Linked DNA regions of Homo sapiens: region 2 is linked to region 1. Evidence: promoter capture Hi-C in human tissues and cell types (Jung and others, 2019). All regions are on one chromosome and are shown on one strand. Each heading gives the region's core, a stretch centred on a gene start or on the middle of the fragment in contact. The rest is flanking DNA. Distances are from core to core; before and after follow the strand shown.

Region 1 (3,918 bases), core at 461-2,960:
TAGAGCCTTTCTGTATAGACTGTAGCTAACAAAATTCATCATTCTCATTTGGGCTTTTTCAGGACTGTTGTTACTTCTTACCTACAACTTTTGTAGCACTCTTACTCTAGGCTCTTTACAATTGTATTTTTTTTCTCTTGCAACTAAATACATGGAAAAACCTGTGAACAGGGAAGTCAAAAGGCTGATAATCGGAACAGTTAAGCAGCATTTTTTTTTTTTTAACCTAAGACTGCTGGATTTGGTTTGGATTGTGTTGGCAAGTGGAGTAATATAGAGAAGGAAGATTGATTTCTGATTCCCACTTAACCAATTACCCTGAATAACTATTCTGTGGACTCTTATAGTCAGTGTGGTTTAGTGTAGAGAACGCAGGATAAGGGGATATGGCCTTCAGGCTCTAGCACTGTTGGTTACATAGCTGTGTCATTTTGGGCAAACCACTCAATCCCATTGGCCTGGCATCCTTAGATTAAAACAAAGAAAGTGAAAAAAGAGGGAATTATGATAATAAGATTTCTTAAAGCTCTACAGACTTATGTAAACAAACATATTTCCACTTCCTACAAAGGATACAAGTTTCCTATATGATTTCTTTTATTTCTGTATAGTTTGATGTCTGCTCGTATGGTTTAAAAAATTATACTATTGTTACCTGATATTTAAGTCTCATCAGCTGATCCCAATAGAAAGTGAGGTGGAAGGTTGGGAAGGTTTGCTTCTATTGCTGTGTGTGGGCTGTAAAATATTTGCCCATTTATAAATTATTTGGAGGAAAAATAGTACCTATTAAAAAATGATAGGCAGCTTCACTGATCATCAGAATTCATTCTACTCATTGGGTTGTAGCACTTAAAAGTATGTATTTTCTGTTGCCATGATAAAAAATAGTATAGTTCATACTGAGGAGTTAAGATAAAGGCTATAACTAACAAACATTAAATGAAGATGGCATTACTATGTATTTGTTCATGTCTGGTGTAAATACTTTAAGACTATATTGAAAGTCTTATAATGATTTCTCCTGCCCTCCACAATTAGGGCAAACACTATTGAGTTCTAACCCTGTTATATAAGCTCAGAGATTCTATTTTAATTTCTCAGTTGCAGAAGTATCTATTAATTTCCGCAATAATTCCATGCTTAAAAATTTACGATTAGGATACTCATCACTTTCTTCTTAGATTACAGAAGTAAAAACAAAGTGGCTTATTCTTTTGGCATTTGTTTTTTTATGCTCATTTTGGGTTTTTGAAATTCCTTCCAAAAGAAAAAGACTTTTTTTTTCCTCAAGCCACTGAATTTTTTTTCCTAAGGCCTTTATCCTCTACTGATATATTGTAATAGAAAATTAGTATACATTTAATAAAACAGTTAAGAAAATTTCCAGTAATACATTCAATATGGCTGTTATTGCATTTTTAAGATTTAAGGGAAAAGAATATAGAAACCTTACTATCCTACACTATAGATAATGTCTTTGTTTTAAAAATCTGTTGGAAGTAATCTAGCTCTGTTGCTATTTGCCAGTCAGTTTCTTTCCCTGTTTCCCATAAGGAAAGAAGAATGGATATTATTGCATGTACTCACCAGTTCTTTTGCTGGGTCAGCCTTTATGCCAAGGTAGGTCTTAAGGAAATTTACAGAGTCTGCCTTTTTGATCAGATAATTTTAATCTACAAGTCTAGTTTGTAGGTTCTCTTCTTGGACTGGTTTTACAGCTTACATTCCTCTGTTTATAATGTTGTGGGGGCTGGTTTCAGCTGAGGTTGATGTGATTGGTCACTTAGCCTGCAGGGGGGCCAATTAGCTCTGATCATGTGGAAAAGAATGCTGGTTTGTTAGGAGGTCTTTCTTTACCCAACACAAACCTTAACAACTCTGGAGAAAGCCTCCAGAACTGACTTGGAGAAGGGGTGCATTTTTTCCCTCTAATCAGGACCGGTCTTTAGTAAGTTTGCATAATCTTACTTAAGAGTTTTTTTGAAAGTTCAAAGGGATAAAATTCCCTGCAAGATTTTTCAGCCGTCTTTCCTTATATAGCATGTTGAAGTGTGAGATATTTCCTTTACTAATCTTTTTTTTTTTCCACCATGTCTTTGGGGAAGATTTATTTGGATAAGGACTTATAGGCATAAATTAATGCATTGATTTTCTTAGTTTTCTTCTCATGTCTCATCAGAATGGCTACCATTAGTTCCAGAACTAGTAATATAGATAATTACGTGAAATCTTTTATTTTTTTGGTTAGGAAACAAACTTTTTTTTTTTAAAGGCTGTATACAAAGACCTTGAATAGGAATAAAATTAATTGTTCTGTACCTGATACTTTAAAAAATGCACACCTGTGGGAAAGAACCGAAGAATTTTCTTAAGGCTTATTTTAATGATGTTTAGAAGATGTTTTCCTGATCAGTGTGATGAAGTATAGTGTTAATAAAACATAGTGTACAGTGTACAGAAAATGTAACACAACATTGAAATAGTGTTTAGCTGGAAAATGTGATCCAGCTTGTTGGAACCCTGAAACGTGCTGTGGTATGGCTTTGTGCAGTGCCTTAGTGAACAGTACTTTTCTCCTCCTCCGTTAGCTGCTGATTTTAAAACTTTGACCAAATGTCACATGTAAGAGGATCTGAGAAACAAAGACTGTGATTGTTCAAAGTAAAATCTTGGAAGGCCTGCTGGGAAAATTATTAATGTAGACCAATATAATGCTACTTAGAAAGTGAAATCCGCCTTTGTAGAATCCTCTCCGTCCCCCCCCCGCCCCACAATTTAAAAAATATATTAATTCCTTCTTTGTTTTATTAGTACCAAATACTTCAACACAAGTTCAGACACAGCATTAGAAACACTGACCTTCAGAACTAGGGAAGGTAAAGTATAAAGAAGGATTTGTGGTGTGATGCTCATTCCCTGCATGTACTGGTAGGAATTATAATGTGTATCAATTCCCAGCTAACAAATTGCAGAAAAACAGAACAACACAACAACAAAATACTAGAACAAGTATAGTATAATACTGCTTCTAGAAAGCAGAAGCACTTGAGTGTATCTGTCATGTGTTTTGAATATACATTGTATATTTTTTATTTTCATTTTTTTTAGACATAGAGTCTTGCTGTGTCACCCAGGCTGGAGTGCAGTGGTGTGATCACAGCTCACTGCAGCCTCGACCTCCCAGGCTCAAGTGATCCTCCCACCTCATCCCCCACCCCCTGCAGTAATGCCACCACATCTGGCTAATTTTTTATTTTTTGTAGAGGCAGGGTCTTGCTGTGTTGTCTAGGCTGGTCTTGAACTCCTGGGCTCAAGCTGTCCTCTCAATTCAGCCTCCCAAATTCCTGGGATTACAGGCATGAGCCACTTCACCTGGCCTGAGAATACATATTATAGTAGGCAAGACAGTTAAGGATTTTATTAAACTTAAAAGTCTTTTTCCATAGTATACTTGGTTTCAATATATTGAGACAAAAATGATTTGGCAAAATGATCTTCAATTAAGAAAGAAATGTCTTAAGTGAAGCTAATTTCTGGATCTCTACAATTTGAAAGTCTTGCTATGGTCTATAAACAGTGATTCCTACTGCTGTGAATATTGTAGACCAGCTCTGAAGTGCCCACTTAGGAGCATAGCTCTCCCATTACAATAGCCTGAGCATTTAAAGTCATTTCTGGTTGAAGTTACCAGGTTAGCTGGTGTAGGGGAGAGAGAAGACCTTCTCTCTTCCTTTTGAAGGTTTGATAATTGAGTCTATAATATAAAGCAACAGTAGGTAGACTTAACAGAAGAAAAACAGTTTACATCCTTATGCACAAGAGTCCCACAAAACATGAGACTTGAGGAAGGACCAGATGATTGAAGTTCTTATAGCATTGGAATAGGGATGTGGAGGTCCTGGGGGAAGGTATTGA
Region 2 (3,998 bases), core at 996-3,495, 90 kb before region 1:
GAAACTTACATGCATACTGCTAAGTGAAAAGCCAGTCCTAAGCTTGGTGCAGGACGCTTGCTCATAGTTCTAGCTGCTCACGGCTGAGGAGGAAGGATAACTTGAGCCTCGGAGTTTGAGTGCACCCTGAGTAACACAGTGAGACCCCATCTCAAAAAAAAAAACTAATCTGAAAAGGCTATATGCTATTTGATACCAACTATGGTATGACATCCTAGGAAAGGTAAAAGTGTGAAGACATTGAAAAGATCAATGGTTGTCAGCGAGGAGAGAGGGAGGGATGAATAAACGCAGCACAGAGGACTTTTAGGGCAATGAAACTTATTCTCCATGATGCTATCGATGCTGGTGGATGAATGTCTTATACATTTGTCAAAACCTATAGAATGTGCAACACAAAGAATGCACCCTAGGCTGAGTGCAGTGGCTCATGCCTGGAATCCCAGCACTTTGGGAGGTGGAGGCAGGAAGATCACTCAAGCTCAGGGGTTTGAGACCAGCCTGGGCAATATAGTTAGATCCTGTGTCTACCAAAAAACTTTTAAAACGCCAAGCTTGGCCGGGAGCGGTGGCTCATGCCTGTAATCCCAGCACTTTGGGAGGCTGAGGCAGAGGGATTGCTTGAGCTCAAGAATTTGAGACCAGCTGGGGCAATATAGTGAAACCCCATTTCTATCAAAAATACAAAAAAATTAGCTGGGCATGGTGGCAGGCATCTGTGGTCCCAGCTACTTGGGAGGCTGAGGCTGAGGTGGGAGGATAGCTTGAGCCCAGGAAGTGGAGGTTGCAGTGAACTGAGATCGTGCCACTGCACATCAACCTGGGTGACAGAATGAGACCCTGTCTCAAAAAAAAAAAAAAAAAAGGCCAAGTGTGGTGGCATGCGCCTGTGCTCTCAGCTACCCAGGAGGCTGAGGTGGGAGGATGGATTGAGCCCAGGAGGAGAAGGTTGCAGTGAGCCAGGATCATGCCACTGCACTCCAGCCTGGATGACTGATTGAGAGCCTGTCTCAAAAAGGAAAAAAAAAGAATGCATCCTAATATTAACTATGGAGTTTAATAATGCATCAATATGGGCATATCAATTGTAACAAATATACCACATTAATATAACATAATAATAGGGAATGGGGAGTTAGGGTGAGAGGGGTACATGGGAACATGTACTTTTGGCTCAGTTTTTCTGTAAACCTAAAACTTCTCTAAAAAATAAAGTCTAGGGTGGGCGTGGTGGCGGCTCATGCCTGTAATCCCAGCACTTTGGGAGGCCTAGGTGGGTGGATCACCTGAGGTCAGGAGTTCGAGACCAGCCTGGCCAACATGGTGAAACCCTGTTTCTACTAAAAATACAAAAAATTAGCTGGGAGTGGTGGTGCACGCCTGTAATCCCAGCTACCCGGGAGGCTGAAGCAGGAGAATTGCTTGAAAACTGGAAGGCGGAGGTTGCAGTGAGGTGAGATGGTGCCACTGTACTCCAGCCTGGATGACAGAGCAAGACTCCATCTCAAAAAGATAAATAAATAAATAAATAAATAAATAAATAAATAAATAATAAAGTCTAATGGTGAAGGAGACGAGAAAAAAAGGCTATTCATTTAAAAAGAAGGAAGAGAATGGAGATAGCAGTGTCATTTACTTGAAGCATCCGTTTGCCTTTCTGGACAAGTGGGCCCACATAAGAGCTAAAACTCTCGATTGCTTGTCACAAATTGTGAAAATAAAAATAAATAAATAAGGCTGGGCGCAGTGACTCATGCCTGTAATCCCAGCACCTTGGGAGGCTAATGCAGGTGGATCACTTGAGGTCAGGAGTTTGAGACTAGCCTGGCCAACATGGCAAAACCTCATCTCTGCTAAAAATACAAAAAAATTAACCGAGCGTGGTGGCGTGTGCCTGTAGTCCCAGCGACTCGAGAGGCTGAGGCAGGAGAATCCCTTGAACCCAAGAGGCGGAGGTTGCAGTGAGCCGAGATCACACCACTGCATTCCAGCCTGGGTGACACTGTCTCAAAAAATAAAAATGAACAATAAATAAATAAAACTTTTGATTGCAAGCAATAGAAACAACTTCTGATTGCAAGCAATAGAAAATCCAACACGAAAGGACTTCAGACAAAACAGGACACGTGGGGCCATGTCACTACAAAGGCCAGGTAGAGGATGTCGTTCCTCCCTCTTGGCCACAGAGTCCCCGGGAGGCCGCTCCCTTGTGCCTCCCACCCTCCATCTCCAGCGCCATGGTCACAGCTCAGACCTTCATAGGTTCCTTCCTGGGTCTCTACCGTGAGCTCCTCATTGGTTTCTCTGCCCTCATTATACCTGATTGTCCGCTTTGCAGCTGGAGTAATTCTTAGAAAATGCAAACCAGTTCTTAACATCTCTCCTTCAATTTTTGATTCCCCACTTGCAGGAGCTGGCCCCAACTCATCCCTCCAACTCCATCTTTTGTCCCTCCTCCCTGCCCTGTCTCCTTCCAAACTCTACACTCCTGGTATATGCGATGCCTAACTGTTCCTAGAAAATTCCACACCTCCAGGCTTTTGCATATGTGGTTTCCTCTGCCTGGCACTCCCTCCCTCCCTTCCACAGGTGGATTACTTCTCACTGTTGAAGACTCAGCTCAGAGATTATCTTCAGGAAGCTTCCTTGATGCTTCCAGGCCAGGTAAGGTGTCCCTTCTCAGGGCTCCCATTTCCCTGAGTTTCTCTCTACTGTAATCCTGACAGCTTGAGGCAGTAGCCATCTCCTTACTTCTCAGCCCCGCTGTTTGGACTGTGTACTCTTTGCAGGGCAGGAAGTTTGCCTTGCCTATTGCTATAGGCCCAGCATGCTGCGTGGCATGTAGCAGGCAACCTTGCATGTTGGTTTCACAAGGACATGCCAGGTTTGTTAAAGCAGACAGATGGGCAAGGCAGGATCATTACCACTGATGTCAGAGACTTCTGAGTACTCCACCATGAGAGCCTGAGGGGCCAGCTCTGAAAGTGGAGACTGGCTGGGTGTGATGGCTCACCCCTGTAATCCCAGCACTTTGGGGGACCGAGGCGGGTGGATCACCTGAGGTCGGGAGTTCGAGACCAGCCTGACCAACATGGAGAAACCTCGTCTCTACTAAAAATACAAAATTAGCTGGACATGGTGGTGCATGCCTGTAATCCCAGCTATTTGGGAGGCTGAGGCAGGAGAATTGCTTGAAACCGGGAGGTGGAGATTGCAGTGAGCCGAGATTGTGCCACTTGCACTCCAGCTTGGGCAATAAGAGCGAAATTCCACCTCAAAAAAAAAAAAAAAAAAAAAAAGAAAAGAAAAGAAAAGAAAAGAAAAGACAGGAAAGTGGAGACAGCAGAGCTTGTGAGAATATCTTTCTCACTGGAAGAGAGAGAGGTCACTCCCCAGGGCCCTCCTTTGACTGAGCAATAGGAAAAACAACACACCAATTAGTCTTGCCTAGGCCCTGGAGGCTGTGTGATCTAACGAAATTTGGACTCGAACACTAGGCAAGTAACTGAACCTCACTGAGCCTCCATTTTCTCACCTGTAAAATGGGCATGATGGTGACCTACCTGGCAGATTCCACGCCTGCCATATATTTAGTGCTCAGGACACACGGGTTCCTCTCTCTCCCCTCCCTCCCTCCACTACTGTAACTCTGTCTCCTCCTGCGCCCTGAGTCTCTACAGTTAGGTCCAAGAGTCTCAGGCCAGGGTAGCCCAGAAGTGCTCAGTCCTGGCTGCTGTCTTGGCCACAAGTGCAGATGCCCACGGACCCATGTTCTCTGTTATTTTGAGACCCCTTTTCTGACCAGCCCAGGGGAATTTCTGCCCATCTGCTGGCTCACTTGCATGCTCCTGGCGGCTGCCAGTTACTGAATGTGGTCTGACAGCTGTGGTTTTGTCGCTGCTCAGATTTCTCCTTGCTGACTCTGCCTGTCCACGAGGCCAGATGCTGGCACATCACTGCCCACTTGGACTGACAGTACTATACAAGAATGATGCCTT

Evidence for each region. The method cuts DNA at HindIII sites, captures the fragments that hold promoters and counts their contacts. A contact is called where the count stands out against the background at its distance.
Region 2: a fragment that was not itself captured here is called in contact with the fragment with the promoter of KCNJ13 in region 1 in 2 of the 25 tissues and cell types used here (mesenchymal stem cells and spleen).

Annotation. Positions count from the first base shown.
Region 1 is chr2:232,774,855-232,778,772 of GRCh38, forward strand. KCNJ13 (potassium inwardly rectifying channel subfamily J member 13) reads right to left here and starts at 1,711. Exons shown (of 3, transcript NM_002242.4): 1 at 1,591-1,711. The region is part of intron 8 of GIGYF2 (GRB10 interacting GYF protein 2); the gene reads left to right. The HindIII fragment of the contact is 9,389 bases long and covers 1-3,918 here.
Region 2 is chr2:232,684,058-232,688,055 of GRCh38, forward strand. No RefSeq gene overlaps it. Among named protein-coding and RNA genes, the nearest start is that of GIGYF2, 11 kb to the right of the region's middle. The HindIII fragment of the contact is 4,802 bases long and covers 1-3,998 here.